Regions from separate parts of the Homo sapiens genome. Here region 1 is linked to region 2. Evidence: promoter capture Hi-C in 16 types of primary human blood cells and fetal thymus (Javierre and others, 2016). All regions are on one chromosome and are shown on one strand. Each heading gives the region's core, a stretch centred on a gene start or on the middle of the fragment in contact. The rest is flanking DNA. Distances are from core to core; before and after follow the strand shown.

Region 1 (5,511 bases), core at 2,852-5,351, 1.4 Mb before region 2:
AATATGATGCCACTTTATTCCTACAAGAATAGCCATAATCCAAAAGTAAAAATAAAAATAAATAGATGTTGGCATAGATGTGGAGAAAAGGGAACACTTTTACACCGTTGGTGGGACAACCACTATGGAAAACAATGTGGAGATTCCTTAAAGAACTAAAAGTAGAACTACCGTTTGATCCAGCCATCCCACCATGAGTATCCAGAGGAAAAGAAGTCATTATATGAGAAAAATACTGGCACAGGCATGTTTATAGCAGCACAATTCACAACTGCAAAAATATAGAACCAGCCCAAATGCACATCAATCAATGAGTGGATAAAGAAATTGTGGTATATATATACCATGGAATACTACTTAGCCATGAAAATGAAATAATGACATTCATGGAAACCTGAATGGAATTGGAGACCATTATTCTAAGTGAAGTAACTCAGGCATGGAAAACCAAATATTGTATGTTCTCACTCATGAGTGGGAGCTAAGCTATGAGGATGCAAAGGCATAGAATGATACAATGAACTTTGAGGACTTGAGGGAAAAGGTGGGAGGGAGAGTGAGGGATATAAAAGTACAAATTGGGTACAGTGTATACTGCTGGGGTGATGCATGCACCAAAATCTCAGAAATCAGCACTGAAGAACTTACTCATGTAAACAAACACCACCTGTTTCCCAAAAACCTATGGAAATAAAAAATAAAATAAAGTATGTTTTATTTAGAGAAAAAAATAGTTTGACAGGTTGTTTTCTTCCAAAGATGATAAGCTTAACATTGGAGGGTATAGATCTTGATGCTGGACTTAGATGCTCACTAATTTAAGGAATCACCATCAACAAAGAAGGAAAGAGAGAGAAAAGACTTGGGAAATGGGTTTGGTGGTTGGTGGAGGAGGCATGGGAGTTATCTTGAATATTCAAAGTGCGGTCTTTAAGAAGCAGCATTAGCTTTTTCTGTTCTGTATCTACTAGGCTCCAGTTGAGGCATTTTTTTTTTTTTTTGGACAAGGGGGATGTTTTTCTAGGAAGTATAGATGAAGTGTAACCGGCTACCTTACCATTAGTCAGAGCATTCTGGTGACATCAGCATTTCCCTCACTAAATATGCTGCAGAGCCCTATCTACCTTCTCAACATTAACACCCAGCAACCAGGAGAGGAGAGAGGCCTGGGGAAGACAGCCACCACCAAGTACACAAAGGTTGAAAGAGGACGTTTGTGGGAAGTAGACATTTGTGAATGTGGATTTAGAAGATTTTTCCCTGTGATGAGCTGAGTCATGGGTGAGAGCTGGAGAAAACAGAGGTAAGGCACATGATTTCAAGTGGTTTGATGGCAAAAGGTAACATATTTCAACTGATTTGATGATGAAGGAAGCGGGAGCGGTAGCTGGAGGGGCATCTCTGGCACATTAACAGGCTGAAATCATGAGCCAGAGAAGGGGTTTGAAGATGGAGAAGAGGGAGGCAACGTGGGGTCCTGGAGGGCTGGAAGGGTGTGGACAGGCAGTGTGAGGACTGCTCTAGCTGAGGCAGGCTGGAAAAATCTCAAGATGGTGCAGAGGTCAAATGTAGTGAAGAAAAGTACAATGATGCCTGAGACTATTTCCTTTGTAAGGTGTGCTAGATAAGTTTACTGACTGCACAGAGTGTGCTGGATTCAGGGCTAAATGCTCTCATCCTCTTTCGTCTCCTTCTTCCTCATGGAAATTTGCCTCAGATCTCTGTGTTGCTGTCCAGGAATAACTTGTGCCATGTGCAGTTTGATTTCTGTTGCCAGCAGTGAGTCCCTTCTCCTCTCTCTCTCCACCCTTTTTCCAGCAACACAGGCAGCCCAGGGGCTGAGCAGGTCCTCCTACCTGATCCATCGCTCTGTCTGCAAGCTCTCCTGTCACAAGTGAGTGGCTGACAGCCTCCAGAAAACACCAGTCAGTTACACTGTGATGTGCAGTCTGGCCAGGGCTCAGTGGAGAAGCCCACACTCATTTATCCATCACTGAATGTTGGTTGTGCCTCAGGAAACAGTCTGGTTGCCAGATACAGACTGGCCAAGAAAATGGACGTGATTAGTCCTCTTTTGGTCCGTATAATGTGAAGACGGTCATGTGAGCTAATGTGTGCTGAGCAAAGGGAGGATTTGGATTCTTTTGCTTTATCGGTCAATCCTCTTCTCCCATCAAATCAATGTGGAAATCAACAGAGTCCCAATGGCCTTCTTTGGTAAAGCCCTTGATAGTTCTATTTTTTAAGCAGTTTAATAAAGATCACAATGAATGAGATTGCAGGTAATTAATGATTTAGTGAACTGTTTGCAGTACTATTGAACATGAGCTGCAGAAATTATGAAATGGTAGGTTGGTCCTTCCCTACCTCTCTCCAACACCCCCGTCCCATCACCTGAAAACCCTCACTCTGCTGTCTGTGAGCCAGTACGAGAGTTTGAGAGATAGATTTTCAGAGCCTCATTTTCTGCCCTTTGAATGGCGAAAAAGCATTTTCTTTAAATTGAATACTTGCAAGCCTCATCTCATTGAAGTTTTTGGATGAGAAGCTCCGGTTAAGCTTAAATTATTATGGCCTTCACATTGTTTCCTAAACCAACTGCTTTAACTCAGGGTGGAAAATGCATCTACATTTCTTTTTCTTTCTTTCCATTTCTAATTAGATTTTGAGTTTAATAATGAATTAAGTTTAATAGGTCCTGAGCCCTAGAGGCAGCCTTTTTGAATTTCGCTTACTTTTGTTTGAACTGGAGTAGCCATGCATCACCAGGAGTAAACGAATTCATCTGTATTGTGAATTGTATTAATAAAAAACCATGGAAATGGTAGAATTTTAATGATTAGATTACTATTATCTAGAAATATTATAACTTTAATGATTGTGTTATTTTATTTATCTTAAAGTCTCAAATCATCATTTTCTTTTAAATTAATGCACCAGACCAAAACAATGTGATGAATCAGGGAATATTTGATATTTTAAGGACCATCCACATTTTACACTTTAACTAGAAAAAGCTTTCTGTAAATCTTCACCCACACACTTTTCTTTGAACTTACCAGCTATGAATTTATAATTGCGGAGAAGCATGTATATGTATCTAAAATGGCAGTTGGGGTGGAATAATTTGTATTTGATTTTGATTAATTTCAATTGGACACCAGTATTTTTGCTTATATAGGAAATTACTTTCTTGGCCATGAAGATTTTGCACATCTCTCTAATTGGAGTCCCTTAACCCTTCCTCTGAAATGGCACAGGGCTTTACTTTTACATATTCGGTGTATCTTATGTGCTTGAAGAGCAGCTTTCTATCCTGACAGCAGCGTGGGAGCTAGAGTCCAAGGAAACTGGTTTGAATTCCAACTGCGCTCATTTTAGATCTGCATACTTGAGCAAGTGCTTAAATTTCCTGGGTCTCAGTTTCCTGATCTGTGAAACAGGGATGCTAATTTATAGGAGGGTTGGTGTGCAAATGAGAGACAAGCTGATAAAACACGGAGTTCGCTTCCTGCCCACAGTGGTCAGGCAATTATTTTGCCGATGCGTCTGCCTCTGTCACTAGACAGGTGCTGATCAGGGTAAAGGCTATTTCTGTCTCGTTCACTTTTCTGTCCTCATTCCTTAGCACAGTGTTTTACTTACAGAAGAGATCAGTTCATGTTTCTTGATTGAGAAAATTAAATAAAGCCCATCATAAACTCTAACAAGAAAATCCAAAAAGGTGTGAAATTCCTACTTTCTTGCCCTACACCAATTTCTTTCTATATGTGATGCTAGTTTGTAAATAGATGAAGGCACTTACATTACACATTAGCTAAGGTCTTATCTAGAGGGTAAAATAATTTTCACATCTCAAGTAAACAGAGAGAGTTGAAATGGCCACAAAGAATTTGTTGTGCATTCTATGTTGTTTCCTATATCCATAATTCTCATTGTGTCAACACAGTGGTTCAAAAGAGCTTGTCAATAAGCTTAGTAAATACTCCACATAAGTTACAATTCAGATAACAAAAAGTTTGATGTAAAGGTGCTATTTTTTCATTTCTCATGAGTAGTCATTGTGAGAGATTGTGTCTTCTGTTTAAAATGTAAGACTTATTTTCTAATACCATGCCTGTATGAATTTAATAAGTACAATTATTTCTCCCATGCCGGTTCTTGGATTCAAACATCATAGAACATGACTAATTAATGAAGTAATGTAATTGGCTACATGTTTTAATTAAGAAGCTTGGGGCACATGCACTTTGCTTTTTTTCCCCCATCTATAGTTTATATATTTTTTCCTTTGGAGATGTATGATAAGGATGAGAGTTGCCTGTCAGAATGAGAGTTGGAGAACTTCTGCTTACAGAAGTCAATATTAAGTGTCTACTAAAATCGACTAGATCTCTACCAGACAAAGCTTCAGAATAAAATAAGTGATAATAACTACAAAAGCTGGACATGAACAAAAGCCGCAACCAGGATGCCCTGGAGGGTGAAGAGAAGCAGACAAATCCCCAGGGGAGAGCAGGCTTGCTCAGAGAAGGGGAGGTAGAAACTCCTTAAGTTATGTGGGAGGGTGGCAGGGGGGCTGAGGCTGGAAAATTACCTGTTGGGTGCAATGTTCACTATTGGGGTGATGAGTACTCTCCAAGCTCAGACTTCAATATATCCGTGTAACAAAACTGAACTTGGACATATTTCCTAAATCTATACAATTTTTTTGAAAAAGAAACTCCCTAGGTAATTTTTCTTTGGGGGTTGTGGGGCACATGTGAAAAAAATCTAGCATCTTTCTGCTAGATAAATAAGAAACCAGAAAAGAGCTATTGAAGAAACTAGGAAATTCTCAAAGGAAACAACCCAAGAATGGATGTCCAAAATCAACGTACCCACAGCTCTGACTGACCCCCGAAACATGCATAGGAAGAATAAACTCAAAGTATATCAGCTAAGGACAAAATATCTGGACTGAGACCAGAACTGCTGCCCAAGAAACTGAGTTTTCAGTTCATACCAGCTAACAAAATTTTATATAATTACTGAAATATATAAATCCACATACCAAAACTGTAGATGCTTTTGTATGTAACTATTACATGTATACAAAAAGAAATAATGAAGGTATGAGGATCATTTAAGTTATAATACTAATTTAAGTATAATTGTAAAAGCCGTATCATTTTGTCTTTTTAGATTTTCATTGCTAGTTGTTGGTAGATTTAAAATTTGTGAAACCATCTTTATTTCTCTCTGTATATGTATTTTTTGATTTATTTATGATTAGCATAATTGTAAAAAACATTTAAGCTTTGCTCACTCTCTTAGATTTTGAAGAGCGCTTCAGTATTTTGTATTGGCATATCCAATCATTTACTTCATCACTTAATAAATTAAACCTTTCCTGAGATAGATATACATCTGCTGGAAATGGGCCTAAATGAAATTGGCAACTCACATGTGTCATATCATTTTTTACGCACTTCAGTAGTTACTAACAATTAGAGGTAGGCAGCCCACCCC
Region 2 (5,222 bases), core at 987-3,486:
TCGGTCCAGGTCCTGGGCCGCGTCCCCCGAGACCCGGCGGTAGGAGCGGCCACAGTGGCTCAGGGGCCTGTCCATGGTCATGTACCCGTAGAACTCACCGCCGCCGCCGCCGTCTCGGGCCGGGGGCGTCTCCGCGATGGACTCGGGCGTGTTGCTTCGGTGGCTGCAGAAGGCGCGCAGGTCGCCTGGGCTGGAGCCGTACTCGTCCAGGGACATGAAGCCGGGGTCGCTGGGGGAGCCCGAGGCGGAGGCGCTGCCGCTGGAGGGCCGCTGGCCGGGGCCGTGGTGCAGCGGATGCGGCAGAGGCGGGTGCGGGCCGGGCGGCGGCGGGTAGGAGCCCGAGCCGTGGCCGCTGCTGGACGACAGGGAGCCGGGGCTGGTGGCGGCGGGCGGCGAGTGCGCCACGGGCATGGACATGGAGCGGCTGTGTTGCAGCGCGCCCCCTGCCGGCAGCAGCGCCACCTTGCTCCCGCGGCCGCCGCAGCCGCCGCTCAGGGTGTGCGAGCGGCTCAGGGGCGCGCGCACCGGCCCGGGGCTCAGGGGGCTCCCAGCCACCGACACCGGCCTGGCGCCCGCGGCCGCCGCTCCCGCCGCCGCGCCGCCGTCGCCCTCGCTGGCGGTGCGCACCCGGCACGAGCTGCACTTGGCCGCCGGCGGGGTGGCGGCCAGGCTGTCGGTGCGCGAGCGGCGCACCAGGCCCGTCTGGCTGGGGGGCAGGTTGACCAGGTGGTGGTGGCGGCGCGCGCCGGGGACGCTGATGGGGTGCGTGGCCGACGACCCCGACGATTGGCTCTTACTGCGCGGCCGGAACTCGAAGAGCTCCTTGAGCGCCTTCATGGCCTCCAGGATGGTCTCGTGGATGTTCTGCGCCACCACCGAGTCGTCCGCCTGCATCCACAGCTCGCCGGGGCCTGTGACGGCCGAGCGGCCCACCTCGATGAAGAAGAAGCTGTCCGAGTGGCCGCAGCGGCGGATGTTCATGAGCTGCAGCGTCACCGACGGCTGCTCGCAGTTGAGCTTCACGAAGCCGATGGTGCGCGCAGACAGGCACAGACGGTACACCCCCGTCAGGTTCTTGCTCTGGCCCAGACCCTTGGGCTTCAGGTTCACCTGCCACACCTCACGGTAGGCGGCCGTGGCGGGAGCCACCAGCCCGTAGCTGTCCTCGGCCCCGGCGGCGCCGGCAGAGCCGCCCAGGGCGCCGGGCAGGGAGGCGCTGCAGGACGCGGCGGGCGCGGCGGCGGGGGGCGCGTCTCCGGCGGCCGCGCGGCCCTCGCTGACCAGGTCGGTGAGCGCGCGGTACCAGCCCTCCTGCTCCTGCTCGTTCTCGGCGGCCACGGCGAAGTACTCGTCCTTGGTGTAGAGGGCGATCAGGTACTTGTGCTTGGCGTCGGCGCGCTTGTTGATGTTCAGGCAGCAGTCGAGAGCGATCACCCGTTTCGGCGCGCCTGCCTTGCTCCGCCACTTTTTCTCGCTCTCGTAGTACTCGAGCCGCGGCGGTTGCGGCGCCGACCCCCCGCCCGCCGTCGCCTCGTCGCCGCCCGCGCCGGGTCCGCGCAGCACGAAGAAGCGCTTGTGGCCATGCTTCTGCTTGCGCAGGTAGCCGCACTTGCGCACGCTGTGGTTGTTGTTGTTGTTGTTGTTGTTGAGGTTGGGGCCGTCTCCGCTCGCCGGCCCGGGCGGCCCGTGCCGCGGCGGGCTCGCCATCGCGGGCGCTTCAGGCCGCGCGGCCCGGGCCCGGCGCCCAGGGGTTGGGGCGAGGGGCGGAGGGGGCGCGGGCGGGGGCGGCTCCCTCCCACCCTTGCGCCCGGCCGCCCGCCCGATCACGCGTCCCTCGGGCCCAGGCGGTGGGGAAGGTCCGGGGAGGCCCGCGGGGGCCAGCACCGCTCGGCGGCGCCGCGCCCTCCGCGCTCTGGGGCTCCTGAGGATGCCCGGCGCGGGCGGTGGCCGCCCCCCTCCCCGGCTGCCTGCGGCCGCTGCCTCCTCGGGCTCTCGGGCGGCGCCGGGGGACGCGCTCGCTGGGCCGGGAGTCGGGGTCCCCGAGCCGCGGGGCCGAGCCTAAGGCGCGCGCGGCCGCACCGGGGCTGCTGCCGCCGCGTCGCGCTCCGGGAAGCCGGGGTGCGCCCGGGCGCTCGGGGTCCGCGCCGCCGCCGGGGCTGCTGCTGCTGCTGGTGTTGCTGCTGCTGCTGCCAACGGCGACCCGGGCTCGTCGCGGTCCCCGCCGCACAGTGAGTAACACATCGCGCACCGAGTGACTGAACTAAGAAGAGCAAAACAACATGTGACTCGGCGTTACGCAGGCACACACAGCGCGGCCGCCCCGCCCCGCTGCCTCGCATTGGCGCCGCGCCCCCCGACGGACGGCGCGCTCGGCCAATCGGCGCGGCGCTCGCGGGGGCGGGCCGCGCGCCCCCGCCCCGCCCCCCTTTCTCCCCGGGCCGCGTTTCCCGCCGTCCCCTCCCCCTCCCGCGAAGGCCCCGGCCCGGCCGGGCGGGGTGGGGCGGCCCCGGCCTCATTAATCAGCGGCTTGTTGTGGATGCCGGCGGAGGAGATGCCACCCAGGGCGGGAAAAGGGGCGCGGAAGAGGGGCGGGGCGGGCCACGGCGCGCAGGGCCCTTCCCTCCCGCCTCGGACTCAATTAATTGGGCTTGAGCTTCCGCCGGGGAGGGGGCGCCGGGCGGGGCCGCGGCTGGGCGGGGCGGGGGATCGGGATCGGCGGCGGGGGCTGCGGCCTTGCAGTGGAAGCATGGGCGGCGAGCCGGGCCGTGCTCTCGGGGCGCGGGGTCCCCATTTTGGGCGAGGGCGGCCGCTCCCGCGCTCGGGGTGGGCGCGCCCCATCCCCGTCCCCCGTTTCCCGTCCCCGTCTCCCGGCCGCATCTCCGTCCCCCCGCAGCCGCGAAACGCGGGGAGGTTCCAGGGCCCGCGGCCGCGGGTTCGCGAGCACCGCGCTCCAGATCGAGAGCGGCGCGCGCCCTTCCGTGGAGGACAGAGGGGCGCGGAGGGGGCGCCTGTGTCCCACCCGCTCGCGGGCGCTTTACGGGGCGTCCTCTGCGCCATTCACTTGTCAGCTTGTCGGGAAGTTGAAATCGCGTTTGGGAGGTAATAGGAGAAAGAGATCGGGGACGGCAGGCGGAGAAAGTGCGGTTTCCATAGCGCCGGGGAGAGGGCGGACCCGCGAGCCAGCGGTCCCTGAGCCGGGAGACCGCGCGGGCGTCTCTCCAGCCCCCGCAGGAGCGCCGCCTTCCTTCCGCAGGGGCGTCCTCTCCCCCCACCGCTGCAGGAGCACCCCCTTCCTTCCTCGGAAGCGTCCTCTCACCACACCGCTTCAAGAGCCCCCCCTTCCTTCCACAGGGGCGTCCTTTCCCCCTCCGAGGCAGGAGCGCCCCTTTTCCCCCCACAGGAGCGCCCTCCCCACCCCAGGAGCGCCCTGCGCCCAGCAGACGGGCAGGTGGGCGGGCGTCCACTACCTGTGTGCGCGGTGCGGGCGGTGACTGCCAAGTTGGAGATGCCCTTGGAGAACTGCTTCGAATTCATGTATCTACTGGGCTTTTGTGACTTTCAAAGCCTATAGCAAATAAGCACCCCTGCAATTACGTCTCCTCAATGACCAAGTCAGGGTGAGGTGAGGGCTTCCTGAGTTCAGATCCCAGCAAGCTCCCGATCCTGCGCAACGAAGAAAACTCAACAAAACAGGCTTTGGCTGTTTATTTTATTTTTTTTTTAATTGTGCCTTCATGAAATAATTTACAGCAATAATTTATCTTATAATATTGGTTATTGTTTTTAAGTCCCGGATGTTTACTTTTGGATGTCCTCTATAATTCATAGAAGTATCTTAAAAGTAATAAAATCTTAATCTAAGAGAAAATAAGTGTAATTTTTGAAAGAGTGATATATATTTTAATATGTTTTTGTAACATGTGACTTGAAGATTGTGTTGGCTAATTTTATGTGCCAAGAGAGCCCTGACTAGTACAAAGATTATAGCGTTTTTATTTTTAGCATGTATACAGTTAGGATTATTGATCAGTAGCCTGAATTTGGGAAGAATAATCATTGTGGCAAATATCACCCAGTGTGCCTCAAAAAGGTGTGTTTAAAGTTGATCTTCCATTTTTAAATCATACCTTAAAAAAAAATACCTCAAGAAATGCCATTTTAAGTCTGTGCACCTATGTGTGCATGTGTGCGTGTTTGTTTATATAATAGATTGTGTGATTGTGTGTGTATAGGTATGTGTGTATGATTGTGTGTGTTGGGGGCGCCACCTTTATGAACATTATGCTTCGGCGTTCTTTTTAGATCTTGTTACCTTTTCTTACGTTCACAAATGTTGCCTAGCAATATGTCTAGTCAGGAAAGATGAAGGGATTCTTATCTTGGTGCTTGAAGAAAATGTGGTGTAGTTTTATTGGCTTTGTGATCACTTACATCCCACTTTTATGAGGATGTAAATGGGCCACCTCTATGTTCCTGTATGTTGCCAGCCATCAGTAGACAATGCTAAAGGAACCACCACTTTTAAACATCATGTGATGGTTTCTTCTGAGAAAGTATATTTTGCAATCTTTTTCTTTTTCATGTTGACTTTTATTATGCAGTTGCATTTTCATATCCGTATTGAACATTTACTTGCTGTGCCTGTCACACGCTAGCAGGTGTCATCTTTTCCTGTTTGCTTGTTTCTTGGGGCCATCCTAGTGTTAAAGGCCAGTGTTTTTAAGGTGTCAGCAGCTCTGGATTGGCAGTTAGCACTTTCCCCATGTACTGCCTCAGTTACCAGACTGGGGACAAAAGAGAGAAGGTTAAAGAATTATCACCTATGTCCGTGGTATTCTGTCATAGAGAGTATAAATTTCCTACAGCAAACTGGAAATTAATTGCAATTCTGCAGTTAGAACCTCCAAATACAAATGTGGATGATACAATTTCAATTCTCATTGAGAGTCAGCCCATGAAACAAACCAACAGTAAGAAACTCTGTAATTAGAAGTATCCCAGTCCTCTTCCTCAACCGAGGAACTTGTTTTCTTTCCCCCTTTCTATTGCCAGATAAGCTATTTATTTATTTAAAGCTTGTTCTACACCTTGTGATTTTCCAACTGTTCTTCCATACTTTTTCAACAAAAGTCAGCTAATAACATCTGCCAACATGCTCTGCACGCAGGACTGGCTGGGGCTGGCATGGCCTCTTGCCAGCAAACAGCCTGGTTGAAATTTTT

What was found. Contacts are between HindIII fragments. The CHiCAGO score rates a contact against its expected background, and 5 or more counts as called.
Region 1: a contact is called between a fragment that was not itself captured here and the fragment with the promoter of IRS2 in region 2, in 1 of 17 cell types (endothelial precursors). The highest score is 5.2, in endothelial precursors.

What each region holds. Positions count from the first base shown.
Region 1 is chr13:108,334,270-108,339,780 of GRCh38, forward strand. It overlaps LOC105370355 (a long non-coding RNA gene), which reads left to right. Exons shown (of 3, transcript XR_007063863.1): 2 at 1,113-1,303. Among named protein-coding and RNA genes, the nearest start is that of TNFSF13B, 67 kb to the left of the region's middle. RefSeq lists an enhancer at 1,115-1,284. The HindIII fragment of the contact is 259 bases long and covers 3,973-4,231 here.
Region 2 is chr13:109,784,347-109,789,568 of GRCh38, forward strand. IRS2 (insulin receptor substrate 2) reads right to left here and starts at 2,237. Exons shown (of 2, transcript NM_003749.3): 1 at 1-2,237. The coding sequence starts at 1,707. It overlaps LOC124903211 (WAS/WASL-interacting protein family member 1-like), which reads left to right and starts at 2,738. Exons shown (of 2, transcript XM_047430835.1): 1 at 2,738-3,099; 2 at 3,254-5,222. The coding sequence starts at 2,747. The coding sequence ends at 3,491. RefSeq lists an enhancer at 744-1,373 and silencers at 2,215-2,444, 2,465-2,634. The HindIII fragment of the contact is 25,501 bases long and covers 1-5,073 here.